3 separate regions of the Homo sapiens genome follow, and regions 1 and 3 are each linked to region 2. The links are contacts of gene promoters, found by promoter capture Hi-C in human tissues and cell types (Jung and others, 2019). All regions are on one chromosome and are shown on one strand. The core of a region is centred on a gene start or on the middle of the fragment in contact, and the rest is flanking DNA. Distances in the headings are between cores, read along the strand shown. Region 1 has its middle 390 kb from the start of MIR4432. Region 2 holds the start of BCL11A (BCL11 transcription factor A). Region 3 has its middle 430 kb from the start of MIR4432.

The links. Contacts are between HindIII fragments. The study calls those that stand out against the background at their distance.
Region 1: a contact is called between a fragment that was not itself captured here and the fragment with the promoter of BCL11A in region 2, in 1 of the 25 tissues and cell types used here (spleen).
Region 3: a fragment that was not itself captured here is called in contact with the fragment with the promoter of BCL11A in region 2 in 1 of the 25 tissues and cell types used here (lymphoblastoid cells).

What each region holds. Positions count from the first base shown.
Region 1 is chr2:60,000,425-60,004,153 of GRCh38, reverse strand. No RefSeq gene overlaps it. Among named protein-coding and RNA genes, the nearest start is that of MIR4432, 390 kb to the left of the region's middle. The HindIII fragment of the contact is 3,989 bases long and covers 1-3,344 here.
Region 2 is chr2:60,551,195-60,555,032 of GRCh38, reverse strand. It overlaps BCL11A (BCL11 transcription factor A), which reads left to right and starts at 1,379. Exons shown (of 4, transcript NM_022893.4): 1 at 1,379-1,817. The coding sequence starts at 1,763. RefSeq lists an enhancer at 70-119 and silencers at 810-899, 2,309-2,668, 3,189-3,248, 3,309-3,618. The HindIII fragment of the contact is 9,532 bases long and covers 1-3,838 here.
Region 3 is chr2:59,953,687-59,957,273 of GRCh38, reverse strand. No RefSeq gene overlaps it. Among named protein-coding and RNA genes, the nearest start is that of MIR4432, 430 kb to the left of the region's middle. The HindIII fragment of the contact is 4,681 bases long and covers 1-3,587 here.

The DNA.
Region 1 (3,729 bases), core at 101-2,600, 550 kb after region 2:
TCAGAAAATAAGAAAAGCTCAAAATTAATTAATTCAATGTTCAATTTTAGGAGTTAGGAGAGCAGAGCAGTATAAAGTCAAACAAAATTGAAGGAAAAATAACGAAGAAAGAATAAAAGTACAAATGAGTAGACTGGAAAATAAATATGCAATAGAGAAAATCAACAAAGCCAAAAGTTGATCATTTGGAAGCACTAACAATAAATCTCTGGAAGAATTAATTAACAAAAGAGAAAATAAGATAAATGAGGAACAGAAGAGGGGACATAATTACAAAGGCTGAGGAGATAAAAAGATGACTCTAGTTGGGATAGCCCTGGTGAGATTTTGGACATATAGAGGTAGGCACTGGCTGTACAACTTCCTTCAAAGCCGGCTCAGTGTTTAACTGTCATTGTGTTCAATGCAACATCCTAAGTGCAGGGCAAGTGCTGAGCCAGTATTCCAAGTGCTGCAGGTGAAGTCCTGAGAGAACCCAGAGAGGAAAGAGTAGCCAAGTGTGGACGGGTTATCCAAGAATCCAGAAGACCTGCAGTAGGACTTGAAACTTTCCATGACACAAGTTGATTGAGAGGTTGCTGAGAAGGTGTCCAAATAGGAATGTGCAAAAGGTAAAGTGATGAGCCTGGAAAGTCCAGTAAATGGGATAACTAGCAGAGACTCTTCTGCTCCATGGGAGTGGGGTATAATGGGCTGAGCATAGAAGGAGTAAAGGGTGAAAAGAATGGTTACAACGCTGAAATACAGACCACTGTTTACAGCTTGGGAAATTTAACCCTTCACACTGTCTCTGTCCTGGGATCTTGGCTCTGAGCTACTTCTGCTGGGCACCTGACTGATTTCCTGGTATGTCTTCTTGGACAGCCACCAATTTGGTGTTAATACTCACAAGGGATCCTCTGAATCTGGGAACATAAATAGCCATTCTTACATCCAATGGCTTATGAAAACCTGAATGACTGACCTCTGCTCCCTTTTAACTCCTTAAATGAATTCCTTAACTGTCTTTATTTCCTTTCTTTATTACTTTTAATTCTTACATTAGTTTTTCTCCTTTCCCTTCCCATGCCTCCTCTCGTCCTTCTTTCCTCACACTCTCTTCTTTCCCTTATACCCCAAACATTCCTTGAGTTCTTGCTATAGTCCAGACCAAGGATCAGCAGGTTCCTTCTGCAAAAAGCCAGGTGGTAAATATTTAAGCTTTGTGGGCCATCCATTCTCTGTTGCAGCTACTCAATTCTGAGCTGTGGTGTGAAAACCACCATAGGTAAATAAATGGGTGTATCTGTGTTCCACTAAAATTTGTGGACACTGAATTTCATATCATTTTCTTTGTTATAAAACACTATTCTTTTTCTGATTATTCTCAACCATTTAAAATTGTAAAAACCATTCTTAGCTTGTGGGCCATAAAAACAGGCAGTGGGCCCAGGGACCGTCAATTACTGACCCCTGGTGTAGAAAACACAGAGTTTAAATGACAGCCCCACCTTCCTGCCTCTCTGCCCCTAAGTACGGACTGACACAGGACAGCATGAGCTGCAGACAGAAGAAGTGGCAGGAGTAGTAATGAATAAGGGGAAATTGCCCCTGGGGGAGGTGACATTTTTACTGCCCCTTGAAGGACTGGGTGGGTTTCAGATGCTTGCATTAATATGACATCCCTGCTGAGTGACTCCCAATTCTCATTTCTTTTCCTAACTTGAAACCTCAGTCACAGCACTTGCCTCCTGACTTTAAAAGACACTGGATTTTCTCAGCAGGCGTAGATTCCACTGCAACCCAGCTTCTTCCTACTCAGATGACCTTCCTCACCTGTGATTTGGAGCCCTTGCTCTAGTCTGTAGAACAGGGTGAGGAGCTTGTGTGGGCTGGCTGTGCTGTTGGAGTTATAAGCTCAGAAATCTAGCTGACTTCTGAACTCAAAAAAACTTGGCTAAGGCAGACAGTTTTCACAGCCAGGGTTCCATGAGTAGAAAGAGTAAATTCCTGCTTCAAGCTTCTTGTCAAGACCCAGCTTAAGGAATCCAGTTAAATGGTCCTTTTAAATGTGCCAGTGTCCCTTTCATTCAACATGACCTAGCTAGGGTGTCAAAAAGTGGGCTTTGCCTTTTCAACATCAGTTTTTCCATTTCTTTTCTTCCCTCCCTCCTTTCTTTTTTCTTCCAATATTTAGCAAAAGGCCAAAGTACTGAAATATGAATTGATTGTGCAAAACAAACTAAAATTTGCCTCGGGGTGATATACGGATTTTTCATTTATTTCTGTTAACATCTTCCAGTCCTTGAGTGTGTATATAAAGGATCGGAACCCTAATTTATCACAGTGATCATAAAGAGTTGCTGTGGCTTTTGTCTTTGAAATTCTGATGATTAGATGGTATTGTTATTCAGAGCAGGGGCCTGAGGGCTGGGGAAGCCCTGTGCAGGACCCTGGCTCAGGCTGGCATTTTTTATGACATGAGAGCAGGTCTTCATTTCCCAACACTATCATGTAGTTAAAAAAAAAAAAAAAACCCACACTGATCTTGAACTTTAAAAACAGGAATGAGATTCCAGTTTGAGTATTTGCTAACTTATGACTTGGGAAAATCCCTTAACCTCTTAGAAAGTCAGTTATACTTATCTATGTTTTAAAAATGGGGGTAATTAAAAATTTTTTATTCATAGGGTTGTTGAGAAGGCACAGTGAGATAACAGGTATGAAAATGCTTTGTGAAGTATGAAATGAGAGGGCCTTTCTAGAGTGGTCTCCAAATCACCCAGGACTCTTCTGAGCTCCCAAAGACCTTATTTGAGAAGGTGATGAAGGTCAAAGAAGAAAGATGCTCTCAATTCTTTGGTCTGGTGTGAAACTCTGTGTTCTTGTCTCCCAGGGGATTTTTTCTTAGTCCATAAGTCTCTTCTTTCCCCAGGTTCTATACTGGTTGTTTTTGCTTACAAATTCCTGTATTGCTTCCCTTACAGGTACTATCAGGTCATTCTGAAGACCCTTGCTGTTCTGTGGTTGTGGAATTTTTTCATTTCAAACAGGCTGTGGTCCTGTTTTCAAGGTTCACTCTCCTCCACAGAAGGCCTACAACCCCAGCCCCTAGGTGGAAAAGGATTGCACCTCTGAATTGCACCCTATGGTACATAATCATGTAGTTGCTTCTGCTGTTATGCAAGCATTTCTTGGGTGCATGTGTGAAATGTGTGTGTTTGTGTGTTATGAGTGTGTGTTCTGTGTATAGAGACTGTAAATACTTTGGAATGTGCATTTATGCATTACTCAGTGCCTAGGCAGTTCTGGATCCACAGTTAGTGATTAATCAACACATAGTTGTTTAATGAAACTAAGTTAGGCCATATAGATTGCCTGAATGTGAGGTTCTCTCCAGGTCTCTGAAAGCCTCCCAGGTTCAGTGGAAACTCTGAAGTTCTTCCAGATGAGGCTGGTTTGCAGGAGCCCTAGCATATTTAAGTTGCTGTTTGACCCTTTCCACCAACACCTGGACAATATATTCAGTGTCCAAGGGAAATCAAGCCCAAATGAAGGCTTCCAGATTGGTCCCAGTTCCCATCTGAGAGATGATCAGAGATGCCCAACTTCAGATATTTTGACAGGCACTGGTGTCCTTCAAGACCGCTCAGATTAGGTGCTGCTGATGCATAATTTTGTGTGTTGATTTGAACAGGTCCTCTCTACAGGTAGAGGAGGACTGCTTACCTGTTTTAGCTACTGAAATAA
Region 2 (3,838 bases), core at 130-2,629:
CAGAAAGGCGAGAGGGGGCTGCTGGCTCCTGGGTGTGCGCCTTGGCCGGCGGCGCCTGGGGAGCGCGGCGGTGACCCGAGGCGGTCATCTCACCACCGTGGTCTCCCCGCTGCTCCTGCGAGCCTGTCGCTCTCTCTCCATTCCCATTTTCTCTTTCCCTGGGTAACAGCACAGGAACAGTTGTGCTCTGCCCGTAAGAAACATTTTCTTCCCATCCCTCTGTGCTTTTGCAGTTGCTCTGGAGTGGGAGGGGGTGTGTCCCTCCCAGGGACCCGGCTCGGGGACCTCCCGCGGCGCCGTGAGCACATTCCCAGGGACTGGGACTCCCGGGACTGCCCGCGCTTTGTCCTCGGCCTCTCAGAGAGGTGGACGCCTCGGTGCCTCTCTTGCCCAGGCCCCCGGCGCTCCCCTCCGGGGGCCAGACTCTGGCTCCTCGTTCTTTATTCCTCGGGCTCTCTTTCTGCGACCCTTAGGAGCCGGGGACTCGGCGCTTTCAGTTGCATTCAGACCCAGTCGCTTGGCGGGGCGCTCAGATTCCCGGTCCCTGGCTCGGCCTTGGGGGCGCCCTCGGGCCCCGGCCTGCGCCGCCTGCCTCTCCCCGGTCCCCTCTTTCCAGGCCGCGCGGGCTCCTGGAGACTTGGGCGCTGCCCTTCCGGACCCGCAGCCCTCCAAACTTAGGCTGGATTCCGCGTTGCCGTGCGCTCCCTCCCACCTCCCCTCGCCCGCTGCGGAGCTGTAACTTGGAGGCTCAGCTCTCAACTTCGGGTGATTTTTCTTTGCTGTCCTCTCCTCGGGCAAAGTTTCCCGAGCGCAGCCGCGGGCTCGGGGCTTTTACTTCGGCCCCTGGCGTCCACACGCGGGGAGCGAGCGCGGCGGCGGCGGGGAGGGGAAGTGGGTGTGCGTACGGAGGAGGGTGTCCGGGAGCAACTCTACCTGGCTTCCCTCCGCCCGCGCTTCCCCAGCCCGGGGCTGCAGCCTCCCGGTGCACTCTCGCTCTATTTTTTTCTTTTTTGAATAATCTTTCATTTTAGAGTCCGCGTGTGTGGGGGGGAGCAGGGCGCACGTCTTGCTCCCCCCCACCCTTTCCTCCCACCCCTGCCACCCCTTTCTTCTCTCCCGGCCACGCCACCGCCGCGGCGCTCGCTGCGGCCACTGGTGAGCCCGCGGCCCCAGCGCCCCCTCCCCTCGGCCCGCCCCTCCCCCGGGGGCCGCGTCTGGCGTCCGCGGAGCCCCCCGCCCCGCACCTCCCCCTCCCCGCACTGGCCATTGGCTTGTCCTGGTCTCTTTTTCATGTCCAGCCCCTGATGTGTGTCCATTGGTGTGAGCTTCCCCTTCCCTCCTCCCCTTCTCTCCTGCTCGCCCTGCCCATGTTTTGTGTGTCTCTGTCCATCCAGACTCCTGACGTTCAAGTTCGCAGGGACGTCACGTCCGCACTTGAACTTGCAGCTCAGGGGGGCTTTTGCCATTTTTTTCATCTCTCTCTCTCTCTCTCCCTCTATCTCTCTTCTCTCTCTCTCCCTCTTTTTTTTTTTTTTTTTTTTTTTTTTTTTGCTTAAAAAAAAGCCATGACGGCTCTCCCACAATTCATCTTCCCTGCGCCATCTTTGTATTATTTCTAATTTATTTTGGATGTCAAAAGGCACTGATGAAGATATTTTCTCTGGAGTCTCCTTCTTTCTAACCCGGCTCTCCCGATGTGAACCGAGCCGTCGTCCGCCCGCCGCCGCCGCCGCCGCCGCCGCCGCCCGCCCCGCAGCCCACCATGTCTCGCCGCAAGCAAGGCAAACCCCAGCACTTAAGCAAACGGGAATTCTCGCGTAAGTAACCCAATAATAGTAATAATAATTATTAATAATCACGAGAGCGCGCAGGACTAGAAGCAAAAGCGAGGGGGAGAGAGGGGTGTGTGCATGCATTTTTAAATTTTTCACGAGAAAAACCTCCGAGAGTCGAGGTAAAAGAGATAAAGGGGGAAAAAACCCTCATCCCATCTGGAACCATTGCCGTGTATGCACTTTTGAGACAGCACGCACCTTTTAATTTTATTTAATTTTACAAAAATTTGACTCCTCCTCTTTCCTCCTTTCCGCCGCTTTATTTCTCTTTTCGAAAAGGAATGCAATGATTCCACTCCCCCCCCGCCCCGCCAGTTTTGCAAAATAATGAACAATGCTAAGGTTGCGAACAACTCACATGCAAACCTGGGGGTGGGAGCTGGTGGGGAAAGGGAGGTTGCTTCCCACTCACCGTAAGAAAATGGGGGGGTAGGGAGGGAGTGAGTACAAGTCTAAAAAACGATTCCCGGGGAGAAAAGAGGTGAGACTGGCTTTTGGACACCAGCGCGCTCACGGTCAAGTGTGCAGCGGGAGGAAAGTAGTCATCCCCACAATAGTGAGAAAGTGGCACTGTGGAAAGGGGCCCCCGGCGCTCCTGAGTCCGCGGAGTCGGGAGAGGGGCCGCGGCGACGGGGAGAGCCGTGGGACCGGGAAGGACGGGAGACGCGGCCGGCACTGCCGCCTTTTGTTCCGGCCAGAGGTGGGTGTTTGTCCCGCTGCCTTTTGTGCCGGCTCCTCGCGCTTGCCCTCCCGCGCCGCCGCCGCCGCCGCCGCCGAAGGGCAGGAGCTAGGGCCGGGGGAGGAGGCGGCCGGGGGCACGCGGGAGAGGGAGGGAGGGAGCCCGGACTGCTGCCTCCTGGGTTGCCGCTGCCCTCCCCTCCCGACCGAACCTCAGAGGCAGCAAGGAGAAGACTGGCACATAAATAAATAAATACATAAAAATAAAATAAATAAAACAAGGCAAGAGAATGTACAATTTCTTGCCCCCAAACCGAAGCCAAACGCTCTGCCAACCCTTTTCTGTGACGGCCTTCTCTTTGACTCCCCCACCAGCCCCCCTGCAAAAATCTCACAATCTCTCATCTAGAAAAAAATTTACAATCACCCTCTTCCCCCAAACCCCTTCAGTTGCAAACTTAGGGCGCCGACGGCACGGAGAGGGAGAGAGGAACTCCCTCCTCTTACTATTTTTTGGAAGATTTTCAAAAAAAGTGGAAGTGGATTTTGATTGGGAAAAATCTCGTGTCTGAATGTTTACAAGCACCGCGTGTGCGGGAGCCTCCTGCCAACAAACAGACAGAGGACCGAGCGCGGCGCGGCAGCCCCGGAGCAGGCGGCGGCGGCGGCCTGGCCTCGCCCGGGCCTTGCCCGACCTCGCCGCGCCCCAGCCCAGCCCCGGATCGCCCACCCGGCGCCCGGCGCCCACCCGCCAGGCACGGCGGCAGGCCACGCAGTGTCTCCGCGCCAGCCTGGCCCGTGGTCCTGGTCCGCCCCCAGCACAATGCCGAGACCTCTTCTCGACCTCCCAGACTGCGAAATCGGCTGGGTGAAACTCGGCTTTGCAAAGCATTTTTATTTTGCAGGGCAACTGTAAAAGCGCGTTCTGCGCCTCCCCTCCCCTCCGCCCTGGGTACTTTCTCAGACGTCTCTTGTCCACAGCTCGGGACCGCGAGGAGGTCACCACGTGCTTTCCCTGCCCACCCCCCACCCCGCCCGGTCTGGTCACCAGTCCCCCTGCGCCCCGAGCACGACTAGGCCAGGTGGCGGGGTTGCCGGGGAAGGGCAGGGGAGAAGTGTGTTTGAGTGTGCATTTTAAGGGCGCTGGATCCTGGGACCCCGAGCACTTCACCCTTTGGGTCTTGCCCTCTTCCCCAGGCCTGGCTTGGTCTGAGGTTCTTGTGAGTCTGTATAAGAGCTGGTGGTGGTGGCTGTCTCCCGCTGACTGCGCCTGGAAAGGCGGGCGGTGGGCACTTAGGAAAGTTTGGCAGCAAGGGAAAGAAAGG
Region 3 (3,587 bases), core at 859-3,358, 600 kb after region 2:
AGTTTATAAGGTGTGTGCCATAGTCTCCATTTTATGTATGAGGAACTTGAGGTTTAGAGAGGTTGGACTAGTTTCCTGTGGCTGCTGTAACAGATTATTAAAAACTGTATGGCTTAAAACAAGATAAACTTACCGTCTCACAGTTCTAGGAGCTAAAAGTCAGAAATCAAACTGTCTTCAGGGCTGCGCTCACTACAGAAGCTCTAGAGGAGAATCCGTTCTTTGCCTCTTCCAGCTTCTCATTTCCATTGGCACTCCTTGACTTGTGGCAGCCTCACTCCAATCTCTGCTCTCGCAGTCACCTGGCCTCTCCCTCTGCTGTCTATGGGTCTTCTCTTTTGTGTGTCTATTTATAAAGATACATGTGTTTGCACTTGGGGCCTGCTTGGCTAACCCAAGATTATATCCTCATCACAAGATCATTAACTTACTCACATCTGCAAAAACCTTTTTTCCAAGTAAGGTAACATTTACAGGTTCAAGGGATTTGATATAAATATCCTTTGGGGAGCTAATTTTTAGCCTTTTTAGCCTAAGGTTAAGCCTTTGTCCAGGGTTATTCAGTTGGCAGAGGTGAGTATTGAACATAGCCAGCCAGATTTTATTTCAGAGTCCATTTTAAAAATTGAATTAATTTTTAAAATGGACACATAGTAATTGTACATATTCATGGGATACATAGTGATGTTTTGATACATATAATGTATAGTAATCAGATCAGGGAAATTAGCGTATCCATCATGTCAAACATTGATCATTTATTTGTTTCGGTAATATTCAAAATTCTCCTTCTAGCTATTTGAAACTGTATATTATTGTTAACTATAGTCATCCTACAATAACATAGAAACTAGAACATATTCCTCCTATCCAGCTATAATTCTGTATCCTTTAACAAATATCTCCCTATCTCTCTCCTCCTCCTACCTTTCCCAGCCTCTAGTAACCTCTGTTCTATTTTTTACTTCTATGAGATGAACTTTATTTTTTAATCTTCCACATATAAGTGAGGACATGCGGTGTTTGATTTTCTGTTCCTGGCTTATTTCATGTAAGACAATATCCTCTAGGTTCATCTATGTTGCCACAAATGGCAGGGTTTCATTCTTTTATATTGCTGACTAATATTCCATTGTGCATATATACCACTTTTTCTTTATCCATTCATCTGTTGTTGGATTCTTAAGTTCATTCCATATCTTGGCTATTGTGACTAGTGCTATAATAAACATGGGGGTACAGATGTCTCTTCCATATATCAATTTCCTTTTTTTGAATAAATTCCCAGTAGTGGGATTGCTGGATCAAATGGTAGCTCTGTTTATAGTTTTTTGAGGAACCTCCATACTGTTCTCCATAATGGCTGTACTAGTTTACCCACCAACAGTGTATAAGAGTTTTCTTTTCTCTGCATTCTCATCAGCATTTGTCGTTTTTTGTATTTTCAATAATAAGCATCCTAACTGGGGTCAGATGATAACTCATGGTGGTTTCGATTTGCATTTCCCTGATGATTAATGATGTTGAGCATTTTATCATATACTTTTTGGTCATTCGTATCTCTTCTTTTGAGAAATGTCTGTTCATATCATTTTCCCAGCTTAAAATTGAGTTTTTGTTTATTTATTTTGCTGTTGAGATGTTTACATTCCTTGTATATTCTGGATATTAATCCCTTGTTGTATAAGTAGTTTACAAATATTTTCTCTCATTTCATAGGTTGTCTTTTCACTCCTGTTTGTTTCTTTTGCTGTTCAGAAGCTTTGTAGTTTGATATAAACCCATTTGTTTTATTTTCTTTTGCTTCCTGTACTTTTGAGGTCTTATTTATAAAATCTTTTCTCAGACCAATGTCCTGAATTGTTTCCCTTGTGTTTTCTTCTACAAGTTTTAGGTCTTACATTTAGGTCTTTGATCCATTTTGAGTTGATTTTTGTATACGGTGAAAGGGGAGAGTCTATTCTTTTAAACCTCCACACTGACTCTTGGAATATATGTATATTCAAGTAAAGTTTTCAATGTAATTATATAAGTAGTAGTTTCAACCTGGTCACTTAGCATGAAGAACTAGGATGTACGATGTATTGATAGCAGTGTTCTGTTGTTTCCTTTTGATTCATTCAACAACCAGTATTTCCTGAGTGCCCACTATGTTCCAGGCTCTCTGCTGGCTGGCGTGAAGAGTCAATGTTGAGCAAAAATAACCACCATCCCTATTCTTCCAAGCTCACTTCCAGCAGGGGGACAGACATAAACAAAAAATAACTCATTAATGGAAATCTAATCACAAACTGAAAAGGAAAAGGGAGATAGAACAAGGAAAACTGACCCAGGCTGAATGCGAAAACAAGATTTCCCTGAGAAGTGGTGTTTCGGCCAAGATCTAAAGGCTGAATAGGAGCTAACAGGTAAGGAAAAGGTTGCAGCGGGGAAAAACATCCCAGAAAGAGAAAATGGCCCCGTGGCAGAAAGGATTATCAACCTTTTAGAAACTGAAATAAGGCTAGAGCAGAGAATGAGGCAGCTTTATCAATACGAGCATTTGTTTCTAGATGTAGTTGCTGGGCAAAGAGTAAGATGAAATGGATTCTCTAAGGTGGCAAACTCTTTGAGAGCAGGGAATGTGTTTTATCCACCTCTGGATACTCTGACCAGTGTGGTATTTCTTTCACCCAGAGTATACATGCAATGCTAACTTGTTGATTGACTTAATGAATAAGTGAATAAATAAATTAGCCTTGACCTCACAAATGCAGGCTATTTGACAAAGCCAGTGAAGTAGCCACCATTCCGCTTGCTCAGTGTTTCCTTTCTAATCCAGGGGGTCATAGTGTGCCCAGCTATATTCTGGCCATTTGTTGTAGCCACATAATTGTCGCATGTTAGCGAAGGGTGGTGAGGGAGCCAGGAATCAAAGCCTTTTTGCATGCAGTTGTGAAAAAAGGGAAGGCCATTGACTGGAGGAGAGAAAGCCTAGAAAATAAAAACTAAAACAGTTTCCTCATCCCTCAACACAGCCTAAGCCCTGGTATAGACATCGCCGACTGCATCCTGAGGCCAAGGCAGTAGCACACTCTTGATTCCCTGCCTCCCTGGGGGACTTTTCTGCAGGCAAGCTTTTATCTGATGCTCCATGTTTAGGGTACAGCATTATAAAAGAGTTAACTTTGGGTCTTGAAAAAGGGGACAGGCTATGAAGAAGGTTTTCTTACACTCCACTCTGAGTCTAACCTTTCTTGCTCACCACACATGGACCAAGCTAGACAGCTTGTCTGTTAGAAGAGATGTTCGTGGGATATATAATTTCCATAAACGCTCATTTAGCTTCTTTATCCAAGGAGCTAGAAGGGACAAATTTCATTTCCATACAAAACCCACTTAAAAGGACAAGGTCTCAGAGATTGTCTCAGAATTCACTATTAAGAGTTCTCCTTGGGATAAAACCTGACTGGTTGTTTTAGCCACAGAAACACTGCAGATGTGAAGGCCTAGCTGTGGAAATCAGGCAATGAGATGGAAGACTCTCAGAGGCCTATGTCTACAACTGCCACCATTCCAGACAGAAAACTTACAGGGCTGACAAGTTG